Regions from separate parts of the Homo sapiens genome. Here region 2 is linked to region 1. Evidence: promoter capture Hi-C in human tissues and cell types (Jung and others, 2019). All regions are on one chromosome and are shown on one strand. Each heading gives the region's core, a stretch centred on a gene start or on the middle of the fragment in contact. The rest is flanking DNA. Distances are from core to core; before and after follow the strand shown. Region 1 holds the start of CCR9 (C-C motif chemokine receptor 9). Region 2 overlaps SLC6A20 (solute carrier family 6 member 20).

Region 1 (6,503 bases), core at 1,425-3,924:
GGCCAGGAATTTGAGATCAGCCTGGGCAACAGAGCAAGACCCCATCTCTACAAAAAATTTAAAAATATGCCAGGCATGGTTGCCTACCCTGTAGTCCCAGCTACTCAGCTGGCTGACGCAGGACAATCGCTTGAACCCAGGAGTTCAAGGCTGAAGTGAGCTAACATTGCACTGCTGCACTGCAGCCTGAGTGACAGAGCAAGACCCTGTCTCTAAAATAAATAAACAAATAGTATATATCATGTAATATATTATGGTGTATAATAGAATGTAATATATTACAGTTTATAAAATATGCATCTGCTTCTGGCTCATAGAAAATTTGGAGAGAGCCAAAGAGTAAAAACAGGACATACCCCTCCCTAGAGCCCACATCTAGAACCTCCACAGACAGCCTTGCCATCTATTTCTCTTTCATTTTTGTCAGAATACTTCTCAAATATTTTATTCTCCCAGCTACTAAGTCTCAGTGCTTGCTTTCATTTTTGTCTTGCCAGTGAGAAAGCGGGAAAAATATAGGGGGGAAAATCCCACATATGACCAAACATACTGAGAGTGAGGACCATCTCAGCGGTCTGTCGGGAGTGGATGGGCAGTTGACTCAGCACTGTGGCAAATCTCTCCCTTGCTGCTCAGTGAGGCCTTGTTGCAGGTGCCATGGGCCATCCATCGAACCCACTTATTCAATGTGCCTTGAGTACCTGATACATTTATTTGGCTTAAACAATGTGTAAGACATGATCCATGTCCTCAAGAAGCTTGCATTCAAATACACTGAGTAAGTCATGGCTGCAAATAACAACAAAGGGAAAGTGCTATGAGTTGTGGTAGGAATTGGAAGAAGGAGGTCATGTCTTTAGCTCTGGGGAGAATCCAGGAGGGCTTCATTGAAGAGGTGACATTTTTGCGGGTCCTTGAAGGCCGAAGAGCATGGAGACATGCAACGAGGGGAGGGAACATTGCTCCAGGGTGGGAAAACATATGCACTAAGGCATGAAAGTCAGAAAGCATGGGGTATGTGCAGGGACCTGGGAGATAAAGGAAGGGAGAGAGCTGCTAATTCTCCAAAAGAGAAAAGTGCCTATTAGAAAAGTTAGCTTGGAACCTATTATTATCCAATCACTATTTTTGTATTCTCTAACATTCTTACGTAGCCAACATGAAAATCAGCATGGGGTTATTGTGCACACAGCATCTCCCCACACTTATAGCCTCTGATGCTTACAGCACTAACATCAAATCAGATACTAACATGAGTCAGGAATGCAGGTCCTTACTTTGAACTTTGTACAATTTGCTACACGGAGCTTGAATCATCTCTTACATTTTTTCATAGCTCTGCTTTTTGTTCCCTACACGAGGCAGGGTCTCTGAGCCATCTATCAGATCCATCCACTCACCATGCCTGGATCAGATGCCTGCCAACCGCCCAGCAGGGGCTGCACAGGGCCCAGGGGCTCCCAACACAAGCCTGTGAGTGAGGCCTACACAAAGAGGCTTCAGAACAGATAAGCAGATATTGGAAGAAAAGGACTCCGAAATTCCAGATGCTGAAATAGTAAATTAGCTTTTGCTCGTTCAGGAAAGGGAGTAAGGAGATGGGATCCCACAGACTGGCTGCTGCACAGCCCTTCCGGTTCAGCACACAGTGACCACTCTCTGGATGGACTTGCCAGCCGTCTATGGAGTAACAGCTAATTCAGAACTAAAGAGGGTAGGTGTGTTTGAAAAGGCAAACCAGCATCCACTGATGAGTCATTTAAAATAACTTTTTGCTTTACTCTGATCATAAAGGAGTATTTTTACAATGCACAAAAAATCCCCAAAATGCCAACATACATAATATAGAAAATAAAAACTCCTGAAGCACCCTTTCCTAGTTTAGCCATTGTTAAGTTTCTGAGATACTTCCTTTCTGACTTTTTCTCTGTAACACAACCTCACACACACACACACACACACACAGACACACACGCACTTAATAGAAAGGAAATCAGACTACACATATAATCTTCTATCTTGCTTTCTAATTGCCCATCTTTCATGGATCACCTTCCATGCCAATTCAACATAGAACCGTATCATAGAATTGGATGGCTGCTGTGTATTCCATTGTCTAGATACATCACAATTCATTTAACCATTCGCCTCCTGATGCATAGTTTCCTTGTTTCCAGTTTTTCACTGCTACAAAGAATCCTTTCCATGGGGCAGTGTCTCAGACTCAAGGACCTCATGGGTGTGTCCTTTACCCCTGGCCACCATCTTGTCCCCCAGCACCTGCTTCTCCTTCCTTTAAGGTATAAATCACAGACTGCCTTAAGCCTAAGCTTCATGTATGTGAAGGGGGAGGGAGTTTTATTACTCGCCCTACAAGAAACCTGGGTTGGGCATCACCAATTCCCATTTACCTTCCTGGAAGTTTCTAGAAAAGTGCCTGGTGCCCATGACCTCTGAACAAATGAGTGCAAGCCCAGGTTTTAGAAGCCATCATAGCAGCACACAACTGAGGGCCAAGATGACACTGGGTTGGGGGCAACAAGAAGAAGAGCAATACTCACTGTGGAGGGCGATGCAACTCTCCCTGGGACAGCAGGCACCACCAGCTCTCAGTGTCTGGGGAAAGAGCTGGGTTGCTCTCTGCCTGGGATGAGGGGCAGGCTTTGTGGGTTCTGAGCAGGCAGCTACCCGATAACAACACGAGAAAGGAAGCCAGGCCACCCCTGCCTGTGTTGTCACTGGTGGGGTAGCCCAAGAGGGTGGGGAGTCACCTGTGTAGCTTCCAGCAATCAGCGGAGTCAATCATTTGCAACCAGAAACAAAAAGCTGAAAACTGCTGGGATAAGGGGAAACTGTCTCATCTGAAGACGCACATACAGACTGATGATCTAAGAGCAAATTCTCTTCCTAGACAGCACAGCTGCTTACAGGGAATGGGGAAATTGGAGGATCCCATCGAGAGAAGTCAGCCTTGTCAGGCTTGCCAGAGGTGCACACTGATGAGATTTCTTTAGGTGGTGTCACCTGAGCAGGCCTGTATCAGATTACCACCCAGTGGCAGATGTAGCACTATCCATCGCAACATACCTTTTCTGGCCTTGACAGACGTACCAGAACCCGGAGGGCTGTGCTATCCAACACAGTAGCTACTAGGCAGATGTGCCTATTTAAATTCAAATTAATTAAAATGCTAACTAGGGCCAGTGCAGTGGCTCACCTCTGTAGTCCCAGCACTCTGAGAGACTGAGGCGGGCAGATCACTAGGCAGAGCCTAGGAGTTCAAGAACAGCCTGGACAACATGGTGAAACCTCATCTCTACAAAACACACAAAAACAATTAGGCAGGCATGGTGGCCCATGCCTGTAGTCCCAGATACTCAGGGAAGCTGAGGTGGAAGGATCAGGAGGCAGAGGTTGTAGTGAGCCAAGATTGCACCACTGCACTCCACCCTGGGCAACAGACTGAGACCCTGTATCAAAAAAGAAAAATGTTTTAAGTGTTAACTAGTTTCTCAGTCATGCCAGGTACATTTCAAGTGCTCAATAGCCACATGCAGCTAGTGGCTATCCCAATGGACAATGCAGATACAGAACCTGTCCATCGTCGCCAACAGTGCTATTGAAAGGCACTGCTTTAGAAAGTCTGCCTGTGAGATGTAGCTAGGAACACATGGAGTGCTGGAAAGCCACAGACACCTTCAAATTGGGGCAAATCTAGTAAGGTTTTGCACATCAGATACATTAACAAAGATAATACAATAAATTGTATTAATTACAGGTGTTTTGGTAAAACTTTGAAAAAAGCTAAATATACAAAATATTGCATTTTTAATGAAGATCACAGACGAAGTCTTCCCATCCACTGCTACAGTGGGGACTTCAATCCTGATGTGATTAATGATTTCCTGTCATTGTTATGACAAAGATCCCTTTTATATATTTGTTCTGGGGGAAAATCATGACTACACTCTTGTGGATGTTAATTTCCACCTCTTGGTGTATTGATTGTCCCGAGGACTCAATGCCGCTCTGTCATGGCGTGGTACTCCCAGGCGCATGTCCCCTTCATCACCCTCAGTTCCCGTAGAGCAAAGGGATGCAGAAGGTGCACTTGGGTTTATTGTCTAAATGGAAAAAGGCCAACAAATAGGTCATCTGAAAGGTAGAGGGCATGCACAGTAAGAACGAAAGAGGTGTCTGATTCATCAGCCTTAAGGAACGGCGGTGCGAGGGAGCCGTGAAATTCCCTTCCCTCGGCGGGCGCTCATTGCAAATAAATGGTGTCTGAAACTATACATAGCTGAGAACCAGCCAGATGCTCTGGCATCTCACTCCTCCCTCTCACTTGGCAAATAAAGACACAAAAGGAACTGGTGCTAGAGGGAAGAAGATGTTCCCTTACTTGACTTTCTTGGCTGAATTTGTTTCTCCCCCGTGTTTGATTGCGTCCTTGGAAAGCTTGCAGCGAGGTGAGACACGCACTATTGCAATTGCCATGGGTGAGGAAAAGCCTGTGCTTCTCCCTTCTCTTGACTCAGGCTGTTTCCTCATCAGGTAAGAGCATACAAGGTAGACACTGCTTGCCCCTAGACGTTGGAGTGAGTCTCGGGGGAGGAAGGAAGGTGAGGCTGGCCGTCAGGGAAGAGGAGAAGGGGTAAATGCACCGGTGTGGGAAGATTCCCTCCTCTGCACGGGTCCCCGTGGTCCAGGTGAGGTGGGGAAGCTTAGGTAGGTTCTTCCATCCAGGTCTGGAAGAGCTGCTCTAGAGCACTCACATGCCCTCTCCTGGGATGCAGAGAGGATCATGAGGCTGGGGAGAAGGGAAGACGCAAGGAAGTCATAGAGAGAACTTCCGCTTTCTCAAAGGAGCTTGTGCAAATGTGACTCCCTTTGCTGCAATCTAGTTTAGGTCCATTCCTGAAAAAAGCCCTATCCTCTTGTTTTCTTTGCTGTGTTTCTTTCTTTGCAACTAGAATTCAGAGCTGGGTGACTATAAAAGGTTGCTGGTCCCCTTTTCTAAGGGCTATTTCTCTCTTGCATTCTCACCCTGCCAAAGGTGAGTTCTGGAGGACAGGGCACTATAAGCATACTCTGAGGGAAGAGATGGAGGTTCTCTAGAGGCTGAGTGCCCTCTGTGGTGCCCAAGGAGGCTGAGCTCTGTTCCTGCGAGCCCCAGTTGTCAGACCTGCTCAGATCTCAGGATTTCTTCAGGACCCAACCTACCCCAGAATGGCGTGGAGTGCAGCACATTCATTTGTCACTGAGCCACCTTTCTGGTTCCAAGGCTGCATCTGTCCACTGGACTAGTGAGAGGATTGTCAGTGTTTTGCTCCTGGGCCTGCTTCTAGCTGCTTAACTGAATCCTTGCTCTGTGATGGCCTACTCCGTGGCTGCAACTCTCACTCTTCATGGTCTTGGGGCCTTGGACAAGTTGTTCCTGACTGTGTTCATGGGGATGCATTGCAGAAAGCTGCCAAGGCAGGCCTTTTGGCACTTTCAGCTTTAGCCTTTTCTGGGCTTTGCTCTTTCAACTATCATGATGTGGGCATCTGCAAAGATACTGCCACATTGTAGAAGCGCTGACCTTTTTGACTTATACTTTGAAGAATTAATGCATGCCTCTTTGCCTTCACTTTGTCACGCCATTCAACTCACAATAAGGAAGAAATAACAGATAAATCCATTGGTGGACAGCCATCTTCTCTTAATCACCAGACTATTTTCAGAATTTAAGCTTTGAGGAAAAGGTTTGAGAAGAATTATGTCCAAGAAATTGTGAGACTGAGGTCTGTATTCTGGTGAGTTAACGGGGTTGCCTCCCAGCTTCTTATAAGACTCACATATAACTCAACATGATATATGAGCTTTTGCCTTTGAATTTATCAATCTCTTAAAGAGAATCCAGCTTTATTACTATTACTACATGATCAAATTTCTTCTGTACTTGCCTTGGGAATAATGGGCAAAGAGAAATACTGTTAATTCATGAATAAAAACTTTGCAGAAAATGAGACCGTGTTTAATTTTCAAAAACTTCCCTCTCTATTCAGTAGACACCAGCTACTGATGGTTACATATTCTAGGGGAAGTTGAAAATTAGGAAATGCTGATATCTCACATTATGAATTTCTAAATCCTAGGAAGAAAAGCTTGGAATGCTTCTGAGTATAGCAAAGTTCTGTTTAAGGGCAAGGTCCCCCTTGTAGAAGTATCAAAATATTACAAATTCTAAACTGAGACTTCATTCTCAAATGTGTTTTACTTGTTCTAAAACGATCTGTCCACAAATATAGAACTATAAGTAATAAACTGTTATTTTCCCACTAGAGGAATCTCTAATACAAAAATGCATTCTATGAAAAGAAATTTTTAAAAAAATGTTAATAATAATAATAATAATAATAATAATAATAATAATAGTATCCCCTTTGGGTTATGGACCAAGTGCTGTACCTGGCAACTGAAGAGCATTTCAGGAATAACTGTGGACTAGAAACAGCAAT
Region 2 (6,407 bases), core at 2,078-4,577, 110 kb after region 1:
GTGGAGTGGGGGTGGGGAGGGGAAGCCCTGGTTTATAGCATTTGCGGATGCCTATGGGGTAAATACAGGCACCATGGCCGGTTTCTACTACCGAGTGTCCCAGCACTTGCGGCTGGGGAGAGGAGGGGACGCTGGTTCTCAAGGGCTGGTGTGGGCCAGCCCCAGAGCCCTGCTGCCTCCCACCCCTCTCTGTGCTCTCAGGCCGCACCCTGGGTTTTGTGCAGGCCTGACCGAATTACGGGCAGCCCCCTCCCCACCGCCTCCTCACACCCCCTCTCCTGGCTACCAGGTGACTCAACCGCTGGTGAGCCAAGGAGGGAGCATAACTGTACATCTGGACAAGGTAGCACTTCACAGCAACAGTGCTTCTCACAGCATGAGGTTGTGAACCCAGTTCTGCCACTTAACAGCCGGGTAGTCTTGGGCAGGCTCCAGGCCTCAGTTTTCTCTTCTGCGATATGAAGATAATACTGTTGTAAGGACCAAAGGTAAATAAAGTACTTATTTAGCACAGTGCCTGGCAGTTAGATCTCAAAAACATGTCATCAGCCTCCTGTCCCAGAAGGTGAGGAGGGAGGTTGGAGAAAAAGAAATCACCCTTCCCAAGTGTTCACAGGTGCCTGGTCTCGCTTAATACTCACCACACAAACCTGGTGGAGGGAGGCCTCGCCCACCCCGGGGCGGTCGCCACAGGTGTGTCCTGGGAGCACACGCTGGGCCTGGCGGAGGGGGAAGGGCCATCCTCAGTCCTCAGCGCGGCCCTCTGCTTCCTCGCAGGGGTCGCCAGCGTGGTGGTCTCTTTCTTCCTCTCCATGTACTACAACGTCATCAACGCCTGGGCCTTCTGGTACCTCTTCCACTCCTTCCAGGTGAGCCGGGGGGCCCGTGCCAGAACAGGAGTAGGAGCGAGAAAGGGAGAGAAAAACAGGGCCACCCGCTCGGGGAAGGGGGTGTGGGGCAAGGTGAGCAGCCTCGGGGCGGGGAGCCGGTGGGTGGTGTGAGGTGGAGGGGAAGCCATGCACCCCAAACCACGTGAAGGGCTTCTGAACCCGGGCTCCACGGGCCCCTTACGCTGTAAGCAAGAGTCCACCGGTGAGAGTGTGCGTGTTCTTGGAGAGAAGGTCCATGGCTTTCAGTGGATTCTCTCTGATGGATGTGACCCCACACACACACTATTAAGAACTACTGCACAGTGTGCCTAGGAGGAAATCTGTGGAGAGGACTGGTGGGGAGGGATTCCCTCAATCCAGCAAGACAGCAACGGCCTGTCCTCTTCCTCCCCGTCCCCTTCTCCCGCTTTCCTCAGGGCCACTCGTGCTTCCAGGTTTCTGACTCCAGCCTGAGCCTCTTCTTTTCCCTGCAGACCCCTAAGTTCTCCTAGAAGGACCATTGTCACCCTGTAACACAATAGGGCCATTCCTAAACATTTTAAACCACACATTTCTGATGATAACTACAGCTGACACTCTGTAGAAAAGTGGAAGGGGCTAGAATTGTAGAGAAGCAAGAACTCCAATTCCACACAGAGAGCTGGTGTACATTCAGGACAAGAGGAATTTTCCTTTCCACTGCTCATGCTCATTTCTGTTACCTGGCTCCTACCGTTTCACTCTCAGGAACCCCATCCTCCACTGCCCCCACCTGCTTCCAGGAACCACCTTCACCTTGGCTTCTTCCCAGTTGGGAACAGTGGAGGAGGCAGGAGCTAACCAGGCCAATGCCTTACCCTTTGCCCCTGAGCCAGGCCTTCATGGGACATGCCTGTCCCCAAGGTCCGCAAGCAAGATAGGGCTGGCATGGACTATGGACTGAACTGGGTTTGCCTCTGGGGTGCTTGGGCATAGCCTTGACTCTGTGGGGGCGTGAGGAATGCTTGGGTGAATGACTTTAATAATCCTGATTTGGCATACCCCACTCTGGCTTCCCAATGAGCTCCACCAAGCTTGCCCCATTGCACGTATCTCTGGCAAGAAAGCTGTAACCTGAGCTTAGTTGCAGTCCCTCCTTCTTTCCCTGGTTCAACCTAGAGTTTCATGAACACTGGCCACAACTCTGCCTCTCCCCAGCCTTCTCAGTGGAAACAGGGCAACTCTTCTTACTCTATAGCCTGGTGACTGTTTCCTGTCCTCTGTGCAGGGCTCATGTATGGTTGGGCAGCTTGTGCACTGCACAACAGTACTGCCAACTAAGGGCTTGCCATACACATTGTAAGCATTATAGATTTGTATACTTATTAAGACAAGTTTCCAAAAGTGGAAGTAATGTGTCTTGTCCTAACAAAATCAGAATAATTTGCTCATCCCCCAAAAGCAAAAATAAAGTGCCTCAAGAAAGGGGCATCTTTTTCTAATAGTCAGAAGTATGGGGGCCAGCGATTCATGAAAATCACTTAAATATTCATTCATTCCATCCTTCATAGGTCTGTGGACTTATCCCTTAGTCCCTCTACTTTGAAGCCCTCCTCCATGGTCCCATAATAATGAGAGGAATAGTAGCTGCAGACATTCACTTACATGTGCTTTGGGCCAGACATAGGTCCCAGCACTTTAGAAGTGTTCACTCATGTAATCAAAACAGCCACCCCACGAGGCTGAGCACACTGAGCACCCGAGCAGAGGGGAGCCGAGTAGCTCATAGCTGGTGGGGTTGGACTCAGGGACCTGGCCCCGGAGTCTGTGCTCCTGTCTACTCACTCCCTGGCCAGGCTTTCCAGCCTTGTGTCCAGCCCTTCTCAGCAGGAGCACCTGGGCTGTTATGCACACAAATGCGGGGATCCTTGTCCTCACCTGCTGGTTCAGAGGTGAGTGAGGGAGGTCAGACTGGGAACTGGCCCATTTAACAAGTTCTCCTATACGCTAAACCTTCTTCAACCTGGCTGCACACTGGGGAGATGAAGTTGCGGGGTGCGGGGTGCAGGGTGGGGAGGTGTGAAAAATCCAATGACCAGGCCCTATCCCAAACAGATGAAATCAGAGTCACTGGGGGTGCAGCCTGGGCATCACCCCCGGGTGCCTTAGTCGTGTAGCCAAGCCTGGGAAGCAGGCCCGGTCTGGCATCAGCAGGTAGTCCAGGGAACAGACTCAGGTCAGTCCCACACAGGCTGTAAATGGCCCAAGGGGATGTCAGCCTAGGCAGCTCAACTGGGCTTCAGGTCTACCAGGACCCCTGTCACCTGCCTGGGACTTGGTGCTGGCTGCCACTGGGCACCTCAGTTCCCTCCACGTGCCTCCCTCTCCCTGCACCCGCATCATTCAGGAAGCTAGCCTGGATGTCCCACAGCTGGTCTCCAAGAGGGTGAGAGGCTAGCTACAGGGTTCTGAAGTCCTGGGCCGGGAAGTCACTCACACAGCATCTCTTCACCATATTCAGTTGGTCAGCTTGCATCGGAGGACAGCCCAGACTCACAGGCTGAGGCAAGAGACACCACTTCTGGATGGGAGAAATGTGCACATGGGAAGGGGAAGGACTGTTGGTGGCCAGCTTTGAACACGATATGGGTCAAAGCAAGAAACCAGCTCACACATTCCAATAGGCTAGGGTGGCCTGGGGAGGTATTGCAGGGGTGGGCGTGGAGGTCCTCACCAGGACAGTCCTGAGCACTGTCTGGGTGTGCAGACCTGGGCTCCAGCTGCCTACTGGCACAGTAGCCATGACCCATTAGGTGATACCCCGGGCCTTGGTTCTGTCTCCTGTGAAATATGGGATTGAGCCCAGTGGGGTGGTCAGACTTGCTTCCATTAATGATGCGTTTTTGTCTAATTAAATCTGGGCTTGTAGAACCCAGATATGTGCAAAACTGATCAATGTGGGGCTGGTCCTCAAAGAGCAGGGTTGGGGTCTCCTACCCCACAGTCAGAAGTAACTTTTCCTCCCCTCCCTCCCATCTCAGCACCACTGTTTACCACTTGGCCTCGGGTCATGGTCATGATGCATGCACCATTGAGGCTCCTTTGTTCATAAGTGACACGCCAGCAGCCTCCTATGGGGGCACACCTGGAGCCTTCTCTTTTCTCACTAACAAGCTTTCCCAATCCCCGCCTGCCTTGGAGCCCCGCCAAATGCAAGCGATGCTGCTATCGCCCTTGCTGTAGCAAGTCCTAAGTAAACAGCCTCTGCTTGTTCTCACTTGGGTGGTCTTTGCTGATTTCCTCAAGTCCTGAGATGCGTAAGTCTCAGGTTCTGTGCTCACTAAGTGCTGGTGGCGAATGGCATTTCCTGCAATGTACATTGGGTTTGGAAGCTAGCAGGAGATGAGGTTCAGGCCCCACAGCTGTCCTGCATGTCTGAGCCCGAGAGAACCTGGTGCTGGTGACTTCTTTGAGCTAGAGTCAAGCTATACCTGAAGCAGTTAGACTCCTGGACTTTGCAGGGTGGAGCCAGTAAGACTCTCATCTGCTTAAGCTACTCTGAACTGGGCTCTCTGTCACTTTCTCTGGTTGGTTCTGAGTTGGCCAAAAAATAGGGACTCTCTCAATCATTGACCAAGTCCTAAGCAATCTGGGCCAGTGCTGCAGAGGGTGTGGTTTAAGTGCCTGAGCTGATTGTGCACAGGCCGTGGGTCGGAGTTCCATCATCAGGGCTGGCCTGGCTGTGGTCCATTTGCTATTCAGTCTCTGGGACCCACCACAGAGTTCAGTAGTCCTCAAGGAACACCCGTAGAATTGCAACGAGAGTAGAGCCCCCTCCTCCAACCCCTTCCTGCCTCACCCGTGCCCCCTGACAAACTCTCCAACTCCCAGTCTGCCTTCAGGGGCTCCAGCCACCTGCCCTTCGGGGACCAGCACCCTTCTCTTCCAAGAGTCTCCGCTCAGGGCCACCTCCCTCACCCCTGCCACAGCCTTTGTCCTCAGCCTTCACCTCCCTGGATAACACTTGCTTTGGTCCCACAGGATCCCCTGCCGTGGTCTGTCTGCCCACTGAATGGTAACCACACGGGCTACGATGAGGAGTGTGAGAAGGCGTCCTCCACACAGTACTTCTGGTACAGGAAAACCCTCAATATCTCGCCGTCCCTCCAGGAGAACGGGGGTGTGCAGTGGGAGCCGGCGCTGTGCCTCCTCCTGGCCTGGCTGGTGGTGTACCTGTGCATCCTGCGTGGCACCGAGTCCACTGGCAAGGTGGGACAGTGAGGCACAGAAGCCCGGTGCTCCTGGTGGGTGGGAGGGTGCACCAAGGGGCAGCTGCCTCTGTCTCCAACCCTAGGCAATGCCAAGGGAGTGCCCTCTGCAGTGGAAAGGCAGCAGCTATGTTAGGGCAGAGGGCACAGATGGTGTTGCTGGGACAAGTCACCTACTAGATGACTATAGAGAGGGCCAGAGATGGTTAAAGTTGCAACCCTAAATCTCAAAACAAGGACTTTCTTAGAAAAAAAAAGTTTTTCTGTAGCAGTCAGCCCCAAATCCATACCACCCAGACAACCAGACAGTGAGTTTGCTTTTCTTTAAGATTGTATGTATCCTCGAGACACCCTAGCCACTGGCTCTCCAACTCAGCTGCACATTGGTATTTTCTGGAGAGTTTTCAAAAATCTCATGCCTTAGCCCCGCCCCCCAAAATTCTGCAGTAACCAGTCTGGGGTGTGTCCTGAGCACTGGGTGGGGAGGCAGGGGAGGTTTAAAAGCTCGCCAGGTGATTCTAATTTGCAGCTGAGTTTGAGACCCTTTGTTCTAAGCTGCTTCCAATCACCCTCCAGAGCTGTCGGGCTTGATCTCCATAATCCTTTCTTGGTGCATCCCAAGGCTCACACTTTCACTGGGGCTGACATGTTCCTTCATCTCTAGTCTGCTCCACGTAGAAGGTTTGCTTTCAGTGTTCCCATCACCCGCCACCTGCCTGAAGCTTCAGCAGATGTCTCGGAGCCTAGCACACCCTGTCTCATTCACTGTCACTTCTCACAGTAGACCCACCACGGCTTGAGCACCCACATTGTGTCATTCTGGCAACAGCCTTTCATGGTAGATTTCATGATCCCAGTTACCTGAAGCTTAGAGAGGTAAATTGACCTGCCCAAGGGCACAGCTAGTGAGGGCAAAGCCCAGCCTCACCCCAAGACTTCCCATTGTCTTGGTTTGGTAGCCACATAGCTCTCTCTATGCCTTAATGATGTCATCAATTCCAACTGTCACCTGCTGAGAGTCCTAGGAGCCCACCTGTCCTCACCCTCTGACTACCTGAGTTGTCTCCTCCAGCCACACCCCACCCCCCATGTATTTCTTGAGGCATTAGACCAGAGCTACCCATGGTATTCCAGGGCCCATGGGACAACTCCAGTATCATGCCTGGTAGGGCATTTTATTTTGGTTTCTAAGAGCCCCTGATGACCAGCCTCTTAGCCCCCAAAGTCCCCTGTGCCATGGCTGAGGAAAGGGACGAGTGAGCACAGGTGCTCTTTCCCCGAGAGAGCTTAG

The links. Contacts are between HindIII fragments. The study calls those that stand out against the background at their distance.
Region 2: a fragment that was not itself captured here is called in contact with the fragment with the promoter of CCR9 in region 1 in 2 of the 25 tissues and cell types used here (mesenchymal stem cells and spleen).

What each region holds. Positions count from the first base shown.
Region 1 is chr3:45,882,714-45,889,216 of GRCh38, reverse strand. It overlaps CCR9 (C-C motif chemokine receptor 9), which reads right to left and starts at 2,674. Exons shown (of 3, transcript NM_031200.3): 1 at 2,562-2,674. It also overlaps a transcript of LZTFL1 not described here and the pseudogene SDHDP4. RefSeq lists a promoter at 2,659-3,658. The HindIII fragment of the contact is 3,685 bases long and covers 1,545-5,229 here.
Region 2 is chr3:45,774,471-45,780,877 of GRCh38, reverse strand. It overlaps SLC6A20 (solute carrier family 6 member 20), which reads left to right. Exons shown (of 11, transcript NM_020208.4): 3 at 778-869; 4 at 4,890-5,117. Among named protein-coding and RNA genes, the nearest start is that of SLC6A20, 19 kb to the left of the region's middle. The HindIII fragment of the contact is 5,169 bases long and covers 743-5,911 here.